Regions from separate parts of the Homo sapiens genome. Here region 1 is linked to region 2. The links are contacts of gene promoters, found by promoter capture Hi-C in blood cells and fetal thymus (Javierre and others, 2016). All regions are on one chromosome and are shown on one strand. Each heading gives the region's core, a stretch centred on a gene start or on the middle of the fragment in contact. The rest is flanking DNA. Distances are from core to core; before and after follow the strand shown.

What was found. Contacts are between HindIII fragments. The CHiCAGO score rates a contact against its expected background, and 5 or more counts as called.
Region 1: a fragment that was not itself captured here is called in contact with the fragment with the promoter of ZSCAN32 in region 2 in 5 of 17 cell types (erythroblasts, M1 macrophages, M2 macrophages and 2 more); the score reaches 8.0 in erythroblasts.

The regions. Positions count from the first base shown.
Region 1 is chr16:3,317,275-3,323,011 of GRCh38, reverse strand. ZNF75A (zinc finger protein 75A) reads right to left here. Exons shown (of 7, transcript NM_001302109.2): 7 at 4,161-5,737. The coding sequence ends at 5,143. It also overlaps a transcript of OR2C1 not described here. Among named protein-coding and RNA genes, the nearest start is that of ZNF75A, 15 kb to the right of the region's middle. The HindIII fragment of the contact is 2,887 bases long and covers 351-3,237 here.
Region 2 is chr16:3,398,412-3,404,112 of GRCh38, reverse strand. It overlaps ZSCAN32 (zinc finger and SCAN domain containing 32), which reads left to right and starts at 3,109. Exons shown (of 7, transcript NM_001284527.2): 1 at 3,109-3,168. ZNF174 (zinc finger protein 174) reads right to left here and starts at 2,898. Exons shown (of 3, transcript NM_003450.3): 1 at 1,707-2,898. The coding sequence starts at 2,108. It overlaps LOC105371059 (a long non-coding RNA gene), which reads right to left. Exons shown (of 4, transcript XR_007064949.1): 3 at 4,587-5,701; 4 at 4,444-4,482. RefSeq lists silencers at 2,552-2,771, 3,322-3,471 and an enhancer at 2,849-3,348. The HindIII fragment of the contact is 4,650 bases long and covers 2,068-5,701 here.

The DNA of each region.
Region 1 (5,737 bases), core at 545-3,044, 80 kb after region 2:
CTCATCACAGTCCAGTTCCAAGGAAAAATTCCAGCATTTTCTACATTGGCTGCCTCCTTGTCGGCGGAAGTAGTCCTGCTTTGTTGAATCTTCTATCCTAGGGTTTAATGTTGGTGAATGAGTAACTCTAGCATTTGTACAAGGCTTCCTAAGACTCCGGGAGCAGTCGACCAAGCCCAGGGACATAATTGAATCTGGAGATTCCTGGGTCCTTGTTTTGAAAAAGACTTGAAATACACATAGGAAGAAAGGCCCAAAAATAAATGTTAACTTGTCAAAAAAAAAAATTTCAACAGTAAGCTTTCTTAGTTTCTCCTAAAAGGTGCATCATATCCAAACACTGTAAAGCTTGATTTTTAATGTCAGCGCTAAGATTGGTGCAACTCAAGATTCATTATCTGAACTGTGGCAGAAATGAAAAGTGATTCAGATAGTTTTCTTAAATCTGAAATGCAATGCAAAAGGTAGCTTGCTTAATTCCTTTCACAGGAGGGATTCAGACTAGGCGAACTGCTTTAGGCAAAGTACACGCATTATCAGATTTGGGTGAATCGTACAGGAGAAAAGCCTTACAGACGCTCGACTGAAGAAGGCATTTCAGTACAGCCCAACTACCATTGCCCAGTGGAGGATTAATACATGAAGGAAACCTAGGCATGTAGCAAATTTGGTTGATGTTTCAAACAGTGCCCTCATCTCGGTCCCCAGTGAACCCACACAAGAAAAAGTGACAGGTGTAGAAAAGATTCAGAAACAAAAGTATGCTTTTTGTTTGGGTGGATTTCTACTGGGACAAACAGTAGAAACGTGAAGTATGGGCAAAACTTTGTTTCCCACTTGAGGGGACTTCAGAGAGTCTACATAGGAGAGAATTCAGTCCACAGAGAATGTGGGGAGAGCTTCAGCAAGTATTTATGCACTAGAAAACCTCCAAGAGAAGAGTAACAGGGCAGCCTTCATCACACATGACAGGGAGGAGTGACCAGGAAATGCTGGAGTAAATGCTTCAGTGGCATGACTCAACAAATATTTGGAAAATCCTTTATGAACTCCCATCTTTTGTTACCAATTGTCCATTTGGATAAAAGAGGCTGCTGGGCGTTCTTCCTCAAACTTACCTGGGAAATTAAACACTGTTCTCAGTAGTTCCAAAAGTTAACAGAAACCCTAGGAGTTTTAGTTTTGAGATTTACTTTGATTCTAAGCCCCTCCTGTTCTTCCCCTCCAGTTAAAAGATATCTGAGGTTGGGCATGGTGGCTCATGCCTGTAATCTCAGTACTTTGGGAGGCCAATGCAGGAGGATCACTTGAGCTTAGGAGTTCAAGATCAGCCTGGGCAACATAGCAAGACCTCATCTCTACTAAAAGTAAAAAAATAATAACCCAGGCATGGTGGCACGTGCCTGGAGTCCCAGATACTCAGAAGGCTGAGGTGGGAGGATTGCTTGAGACTGGGAGATCGAGGCTGTGGTGAGCCCCAGCCTGGGCAACAGAGACCCTTGTCTCAAAAATAAAATATATCTGAGGTTCTCAAGGTGAGCTCAAGGTCCAGTCTGCTTAACGGCAGGGAGAACTCTAGGTCTGGGATGGTCCCAGCACTGAACTTAGACTAGTGCAGGGGACAGGTCAGGAGACTAGACGGGGTCAATGATACAGTTCTCTGAAATAACCGTGAAGCCACGGTAAGGCTGCTATCTGAACATGCTAAAATAAAGCATCCTTCTTGTTTCCTGGAAATCATCTGCCGGTTTATGGAGGACATATTTGTGCATTTAGTACTAATTAGTGCATTTAGTACTAATGTTTAAGGCTAAACCTAGGATTATGTGTCTCTCATTTCATTTTTAAAGCAAGCCTCAATAGATTTTAATATCATGGTTTAAGTAATTTGTTCTCATATCATCTGATATCATTTTAGTAATCCAATCTCATCTCAAGCTACAGAAATCCCTTCTTCCACTCCCCACCCCACAAATTCCAAGGTTGTTATGAGACATCATGTTATGTGCAGCAGCTGGGTACTGGCTAAGCTACGACTTTCCCCCTGGAGGATTCTCACTCCACAGGTGGAACTGTCTTGCTCCTGCCTCCCTGCCCAAGTTTCTCCCCAGTTGTCCGTCATCCCTTAGTCCAGGAAGATAGCCACCTTACTGTCTACACTGATCTGGACAAATTTGCTTTTGCCCTATATCTCATCTGTTTTCTGAGGCACAACTCACTGAAGATACAACAGAGGTAGTTAACAAACCATTCTTTGAAATCTCCTGCATGCATATGAGGAAGGCAATCCCTACCCCCTAACCCCCACCATAGCCCATTCATCAATAGCAATGCCTGTTTTGTGCATGAGGCAACGCGCAGGGAGACAAAGAATAAGGGAAGTGGAATAAGGCCAGATAGGGAAGGAGGGTTGCCTTGTCCCCTTGAACTGACCTCCCATAAGATTTGTCCAAGACAGCAATGTCTTTCTTCCCTATCATCTACAGTCTTGGGAGGTCTTAAGTGGTCCCATTAGTGTTGCATCAGCTCAGTTTAGTATCCACGGGAAGCCAGGTCTCTTTTGAGGGCCAAAGGCTAGGCAGAATGAAAATGGAAAGGTCCAGAGCTCCAGCAAAACAGTCACTCCCCCAGCTGCCCTTTTCCAAGCTCTATTAAGATAGGCCAGGTTGGCCAGGTGCGGTGGCTCACGCCTGTAATCCCGGCACTTTGGGAGGCCGAGGCGGGTGGATCACGAGGTCAGGAGACCAAGACCATCCTGGCTAACAAGGTGAAACCCCATCTCTACTAAAAATACAAAAATTAGCCAGGCGTGGTGGCGGGTACCTGTAGTCCCAGCAACTTGGGAGGCTGAGGCAGGAGAATGGCATGAACCCAGGAGGCGGAGCTTGCAGTGAGCTGACATTGCGCCACTGCACTCCAGCCTGGGCAACAGAGCGAGACTCCGTCTCAAGAAAAAAAAAAAAGATAGGGCAGGTTATGCTACAGAAACACATAGCACCAATGTCTCAGTGATTTAACAGAACAAATGTTTATTTCTTGTTCTCACAAAGTTCACTATAGGTCTGGAGACTCTTGGGAATAGCCGCCCTCCATGCAGTGGCTCAGTGTTCTGGACTGCTTTGATTTCATGGCTGCTCTCTCTGTATGTGGTTCCATGATTAAGGCAGGAAAGGAGAGCACTGGCCTTGTACCAGCAAAAAAATAAAAAAAAAAATAAAAAAAAAAAAATGAAAAGCTTCAGCCAGAGGCTCACAATGCTCACAACTCATTGACCAAAACTATCTCATACCCGTCTTAGAGCAAGGAGCAGGAAAGCAAAACCATTCTTCTTACTGTTCACTGGAATACAAGTTCCATGAGGGGATGCAATTTTGTCTCTTGGCCACTCCTGTGTCCTCAGAGTATAGGACAGTGCCTGACACATCATAGGCCTTCATTAAATTGAACAGAATGAATGAATGTAGGGCCAGAAAGAAAGCCACACATGATCTGGGAGAAGAAACAGAATCCTGGAGGTCTTAAGTTAAGGTGGTGCTGGGTAAGAGCTATGTAGACCAGAGCTCCAGAGTTGGCTGTACTTAAGAAACAATTAGTATAGGCTGGGCACAGTGGCTCATGCATGTAATCCCAGCACTTTGGGAGGCCGAGGCGGGTGGATCACTTGAGGTCAGGAGTTCGAGACCAGCCTGCTCAACATGGTGAAACCCCGTCTCTACTAAAAATACAAAAAATTAGCCAGGCGTGGTGGTGGGTGCCTGTAATCCCAGCTACTCTGGAGGCTGAGGCAGAAGAATTGCTTGAATCTGGGAGGTGGAGGATGCAATGAGCTGAGATCACACCATTGCACTCCAGCCTGAGTGACAAGAGCGAAACTCTGTCTCAAAAAAAATAAAATAAGAGGTTTGGAAGAGGTCAGTTATTTAACCCCTTTCCTGATATACCTAAGAGCTCTAAAAGGAATGCACCTGAGTCACTGCTGTAGCTAAACAAGCAAGTTGTAAGAAAATCCATAGGCTATACAGACTTTTGGCAATCCATCAAATTTATCACCTGAGGCTGCTGTTAAATGCTGTGCTGGAAAGAACAAAGACAGGTAGAGCTTACAGGACAGGACAGAACAACATGGATGTAGATTTGCTCATCCTCGCCCAACACTTAGCACCAGTGCCCAAATCTTTTATTTAGGGAACCGTCTCCTGCTGACTACATGTCCAGGTCTCCATGCCAAATGAGCCACAGGATCCTGCCTGCAGCACACACACTCCAACTCCCATGGAAATTAAGTCTCTCATTCTTAACAACAAAGAAAAGCCAATTAAAAAGTAAACAAACAAAACTGAGAAGTTGATCTTAATTCCCACTAATTCTCTTTCAGGCCTTGGGCAAGTACTAATTTTTATAGCTGCTTTATCCTACTGACATTGCAAGGCAGGGATTAACAAGTCTAGTTTCTTTTATTGCAGAAAATTCTTTACATCTAATATATATTCCATGGCTACAAATTCCAACCCGTTTCCCCCATGATTCCATTAGAGATGTCTTCTATTTTCCAAACATCACCAATGAGAGGCATAAGACAGTGCATTAATAGTTCATCTGGAGATTCCCTAGTGGTGGTTAACAAGATTTCATCACAGTAAAAAACTGTGATAACAGGATCCAAGAGAAGTTGCCGAAAAGTTTAAGAAGGAACTCAAGTGATGTCCAACTTTGCAAACCGTGTCCAATGACAAAAGAAAGAAAATCCAATTTGGTTCCTGGAACACTTTACATTGTAATTCATTTCGGCCTCATGAGACTATGGAAATTGGTAAGCCTGCTACTGTGAAGAGAATGGTATGCAATTAAACATGCATGTTACTGCTTTTTGTTTTGGAAGACCATGCTGCCAATGTTTCTATTGGATGTGTTCAAAAATGACTGGAGAGATCAATACAAAGCCAACAATGTTTACTTCTGTGACCACAGAAGACTACTGAGTGGCTGCAGAGCAAGTCTTGATTATTTTCTGTGAAATGTATGTTTATCCCATTTTCTGATGTAAAATTTTTCAAGGTTTGTGATTTTTCTTTTACATAAATTTTAGTGCCAAGCTCCATTTGGTGAATGTCTTCAGAATGAGGACACTGGACAAGCTTCTCTTCACAGGTGGAGTTTCTGGTGTCTAAGAAGGCTTGACCGCCTGCTGAAGTTTCTCCTGCATATGCTACAAGTATATGGCTGCTCACCTGTGTGGGTTCTCCGGTGTTTAATAAGGTGGGAGTTCTGACTGAATTTTTTTCCACATTCATGACATGTGAAGGGCTTTTCTCCTGTATGAGTTCTTTGGTGTGTATGTAAATTTGTATTTTGACTGAAGCTTTTCCCACACCATGAACATTTATATGGTTTTATTCCTTGGTGTGTTGTTAAGTGCTTATTAAGATCTGAACTCCATCTAAACCTCTTATCACACTGTTGACATTTATAGGGTTTCTCTTCAGTGTGAATTCTTTGGTGCTTAATAAGGTCAGAGCTAACTCTGAAGGTTTTCCCACATTCCTGACATTTAAAAGGCTTCTCTCTTGCACAATCTTTCTTGTGACGATCCATAAGTTTGAGCAGCTCTTGTTTCCAGGTTGAAAGTTTCTTTCTTTTCTTCACTGGAAAATCTTGGTGCCATTTTCCCACTCTGTGCATATCAAAATGATTTTCTTTGCCTGCTGTTTTCTGGGGAACTTTTACTTTGGCCTTTTTT
Region 2 (5,701 bases), core at 1,860-4,359:
TACTCTACACACCACCCCCCACCTACTTCTGCTGGAAATAGGCCCTGTAGGAACAGGAAGCAGTATGGTGAGGGGCTGTTAAAAGTCCTTCTTACCTAATACATTGTTCTGCCAAAGGCTTTCCTGGTAAGGAGATCCCAGTAGTAGTAGGGGTCTAAGAGGACCACCCCACCTTCATTCCCTAACAAGTTCTATTTTCCGAAGTACCTGCCGTTTGCTTCTTGCCTAGGTCCTGACTGGGGTCTGACTTCGGGGCGGGGAGTGGCAAGCAATGGCAACGCTGGCCAGTTGAACTGTAACTTCCTGATCCAAAGACAATAAGCTAGTCAGGCATTGTGTGGCTCACTCCTGTAATCCCAGCACTTTGGGAGGTCAAGACGGGCGGATCGCCTGGGCCCAAGAAGAGTTCAAGACCAGCCTGGGCAATGTGGAGAAACCCTGTCTCTACAAAAGTACAAAAATTAGCCACGCATGGTGGCATGTACCTGCAGTCCCAGCTACTTGAGAGGCTGAGGTGTGAGGAACACTTGAGCTGGACATGGAGGTTGCAGCGAGCTGAGATCGTGCCACTGCCCTCCAGCCTCAGCAACACAGTGAGACCCAGTCTCAAAAAAAAAAAAAAAAATCAAAGACAAAAAGCTAGGCCAGGTGTGGTGGCTCACGCCTGTAATCCCAGCACTTTGAGAGGCCAAGGCGGGAGGATCACTTGAGGTCAGGAGTTCGAGACTAGCCTGGCCAACATAGTGAAACCCCCTCTCTACTAAAAAGTACAAAAATTAGCTGGGCGTGGTGGCAGGCACCTGTAAACCCAGCTACTCAGGAGGCTGAGACCTGAGAATCGCTTGAACCTGGGGTGCAGAGGTTGCAGTGGGCTGAAATGGCACCACTGCACTCCAGCTTGGGAAACACAGCAAGACTCCATCTCAAAAAAAAAAAAAAAAAAAAAAAAAAAAAAAAAAAAAGACTATAAGCTAAACACTGGAAAGACAATAAGCTAGAACTTCCAATGAAATGAAGTTCCCCAAAGTCCAACTGCTACCCAACAGGGTGACCCTATCTGCTAAGAATTCTGCTAGTAGGAAAACTAAGTTGGGTGGGGGAAGAGCTGACAGAAGGGATTTAAGAACCTTACAATTACTTCTGGTGACACAAGGTGCATAAAGGAATGGTAAGAACCTTGGTCCTCTGTTGCCTCACTGGGTATCAGTAGTTGGATTTTCTAAAAACCTGTTAATAACTCAGGATAGGTTCCCAGATAGAGGCTGGAAGCAACTTCTGAAGCCATCCAGTCCACTTCTGAGACTTAAATAGGGAGAGATCCAGATACCAAACATTACCCAGATGAAAAAGAAATCGGCCGGGCACGGTGGCTCACACCTGTAGTCCCAGCACTTTGGGAGGCCGAGGCGGGCGGATCACGAGGTCAGGAGATCGAGACCATCCTGGCTAACACGGTGAAACCCTGTCTCTACTAAAAATACAAAAAATTAGCCGGGCGCGGTGGCGGGCGCCTGTAGTCCCAGCTACTCGGGAGGCTGAGGCAGGAGAATGGCGTGAACCCGGGAGGCGGAGCTTGCAGTGAGCCGAGATAGCGCCACTGCACTCGGGCCTGGGCGAAAGAGCAAGATTCCGTCTCAAAAAAAGAAAAAAAAAAAAAAAGAAAAGAAAAAGAAATCCCCAGGATGATGGGAGAGGACCCTCCTTACCCACTGCTTTGGTTTCTTGGATGCTCTGTGAAAATCTTCCACGAGGGTCACAATCTCCTTGCTGCTCATTGGACATCGATGCCTGACCCGAGCCTGGATCTCCGGGGGCAGGATGGTCAGGAACTGCTCCATCACCAGAAGCTCCAAAATCTGCTCCTTGGTGTGCAGCTCGGGTTGCAACCACTGACGGCAGAGCTGTCGGAGCTGGGAGAGAGCCTCTTGGGGTCCAGACACCTCTTGATAACAAAAGCGTCTGAAGCTCTGGCGGCAGAGCTCAGGATCTGGGCAGTTTTTTTGCAGAGGAGGGCCCCGTTTCTCTTCTAGTTTGGCTATTATGTGTCTCTCTTGCTTGGAGGAAGCTTCAGTGTTGGAGCTTAAAGTTATCTCCATTTTAGCTGCCATTTTGGGCGTCAGGAGACAACTCTCTCCTTGTAAACGGGTTAAGCCTTTGGGATCATGACCCTGGAGAAGTCTCTGAATACTAGAAAGATTCTAGAAACGAAGGTTCTCTGAGGATGTTAGGGGGAACGGGATGCAGAGACAAAGCCTCACTTGCTAGCCTTTACTAGCCAAACTCAAGACAACGCGGTCCCTGGGAGTGGGAAGAGTTTTGTCTTCTTGTCAGTTTTTTGCAGTCTTGCAAAGGAGAAAAGTCATAACGTCCTAAAAGGACTCTGGGGAAAAAATACTTCTTTTATTTCAGTAGCAAGCACACAGGTCTCGGATTTAATGAGCAATACGCTCTAACCGGCGGGTGGAGCGGAATCCCTAGGAAAAGTTCAAGCTGTCGCAGGTAGCTTGCCCCAACTCTCCCGCATCCTGGCGGAAACCGACCGGGTGCATGTCGCCGGGTGCTAAACGGTAGAGCTAAGCGAGGCCACAGCGCCAGCCGGGGGTGTGAGGTAGCGAACAGCCTCCTGCACGCGAGCAAAGCGGCTGCTCGCTGCCGAGGCGCCGCAGGCCCAGTGGCTCCGGCCTCCAGGGCGGCCCCGCGGCCCAGCCAGCCCCAGGCCTGGCGAAGCTGCCGCAACCCGATGCGCAGCTGAACTCCACGCCCGGTGTGAGCTCGGACTGGCGACTGCGACACCGGTACCCCGAACAGCCCGGCGCCCCGCACCCACCTGCAGCCGACTCACCTCTCCGGGAACCCAAGACCGAGGGACTTAGGACCCGACACCGGCGAGCACGGGCTGGGGGCGGGGCCGATGCCACTCGCTGCGGAGACGCCCACTAGCTGCTGAGGACAACTACTGACAGGGCCCGCCTCCTGCCAAGGGCATTCTCTACCGTCTATTGGTTGCTGCGCCTGTCAATACCGTCGCAGTGCATCCCGGGAGCTGCAGTCCGGCAATTCGGCTTGCGGGCCTGCGCAGGGGCGTGCGTAATGGGCGGAGCGAATCGCGCCGCTGACTTCCGGCCCGGAGGCTGAGGGAGTTTGTGGAGTCGCGAGTGCTGGTGTCCGGTGAGTTCTCCGCTTCCTTGCGGCCGGCGGGATTAGCCGCTGGGCCCTGCGACGGCCGAGGAGCCCCTCCCCGCTGGGAGTCTTCTCCGAGGCGTTCGGGTCCGGCCCCGATGGGCGTCTCCTTGGGACAGGCAGCCTCCCTCAGGCCGGGCGTCCCCAGACGCGCCGCGATCACCGTGCCCCGCTCCCACCGTGCGGATCACCCCGAGCCTGAGCGCCGGCGCCCCGGGACCCCCTGGCCTTGACCCTGCTCATCTCGTCCCTGTCTCGCCCACTCCCTACTCATCCACAGTGCCTAGCCCTGGCACCGAGTGCGTTCTGAGTACTCAATAAATAGTTAACTAAGTGAAAAACCTATCAACCTGGCTCCCCATCCTCATGCTACATTTTTTTCCGAGTGTTTGGGCCATCGCTAGAGTGAAGTAAAATTTTCAGAGAACAGCATTTTAAAATTTAACGATGAGTGGGAGGTAAGGGGTCAAAAGGGGTCAAGAAGGGTGCAGGTTCCGCCTTCTGCATGAAGTTAGAAGAGCTTTTATTAAATTCTTCTTCAGCCAGGTAAGGCACAGGATGAACATAATGAAGGCAAGGGGTGCTGGTTCTAGTCCTGGCCTTGCTGCCTAGGAGCTGTGCTGTGTGATGCTTTAGGCAAGATACTTCATCGCTCTCAGTTTCTTTTTGGCTAGAAAGCAGTGCTAACAATAATAATGCCCTTGATTTCTCTATCTCTAGAAGCACTGAAATGTAAAGAGAATTTAAGTGAAGGCAGTTCAAGTTCCTTGAGAAAAGGGAACCCAAATCCATTTTTAAAATATAAAAAAATTTCTTTAATTTTTAAAAAACATTTACCATCATAACCATTTTTAAGTGTACAGCTCAGTAGTCCTGAGTATATTCATCTTGTTGTGCATGCTGGATCCATTTTAATACCACATGGTGAGGGTGTATCAGCCCCTGGAGAAAATGTAAATTACGATCTGCTTTAATCTGTGTTTTAAGTAGATAAAAACCAACACAAACTCATTAAAAAAGACTGCCTTCGCGGGTGCAGTGGCTCACACCTGTAATCCCAGCACTTTGGGAGGCCAAGGTGGGAGGATCACTTGAGCACAGGAGTTTGAGACCAGCCTGGGCAACATAGTGAAACTCCACCTCTACAAAAAATACAAAAGTTAGCTTCTATTTAAAATTATTTTTAAGGTCGGGCATGGTGGCTTATACTTGTAATCCTAACACTTTGGGAGGTTGAGGTGGGAGGATTGCTTGAGTTCAGGAGTTTGAGACCAGCCTGGGCAACAGAGTGAGACTCCATCTCTAAAGATAAAAAAACAAATAAAATTATTTTTAAAAGTTATTTATTAATTTTAAATTATATAAAACTATTTTTAAAATTAACTCTTAAAAAAATATTGCCTTACATAAACTGGCCTTGGAGATCCAAACATGTTGTCAAGACTTGAGTATATTGTCCTCTTGTAAACAGGCTCACTCCTGTGATGGAAGAGTGGAGTAGAGAGTGGGACATAGTTGGAGACAACTCTGATCTTACATTTGCCCAATTTACCAATTCCTAGAAAATGAAGAGCTTTCCCTACCTCTCATGTAAAATCTGAGAAAAGAATTTTGATAGGCCTAGCTGTGTGTCATATGCCCACTTCTGGGGAAGTGGGTATTGTAATTAATATCCCCACCAGAACCAATGAGAGGGACTTTTTCTTTTTTTGAGACAGTCTCGCTCTTGTTGCCCAGGCTGGAGTGCAATGGCGTGATCACAGCTCACTGCAACCTCCGCCTCCCGGGTTCAAGCGATTCTCCTGCCTCAGCCTCCCGAGTAGCTGCGACTACAGGTGCGTGCCACCATGCCCAGCTAATTTTTTTGTATTTTTAGTAGAGACGGAGTTTCATCTTGTTAGCCAGGATGGTCTAGATCTCCTGACCACGTGATCCGCCCGCCTTGGCCTCTCAAAGTGCTGGGATTGCAAGCGTGAGCCACCACGCCTGGTCGAGGGGGACTTTTTCACAAAGGAAGAAGATGCTGCTACTAGAAGTGGGAAAGGAATGCTGGAAAATAAAAACATACAGCAAACCCGAACAGTCACTTATCCACGTTGTGTGTGTGTGGAGTAATAGTAATGAAGAAGTTAATCAAGAAGCACACACACACCAGTTCTCCCCCGAGGAGAGGGTAGCAATTGGGAACATGAATTCAGGCTTCTTGAGGATAGGGAAGGACAGGAAAAAGACCTAGGTGTGTGAGGGAAGAAGGGAAGGAACAGGTGAACTATATCGTCAGGAACAGTTTGAGTAATTCGTCAGCAGACACAGAATCTTGGCTGGGAGAAGACTATATTTTTTGGTACTGTAACTGCCCAGTGGGTTCATCTTGCCCACTGCCTAGATAAAGCCAGTTTGTCAAGACAGGGGAACTGCAATAGAGAAAGAGTTTAATACGCACAGAACCGGCTAAATGGGAGACTAAAGTTTTATTACTCAAGTCAGCCTCCCCGGAAATTCAGAGGCTAGGGCTTTGGCA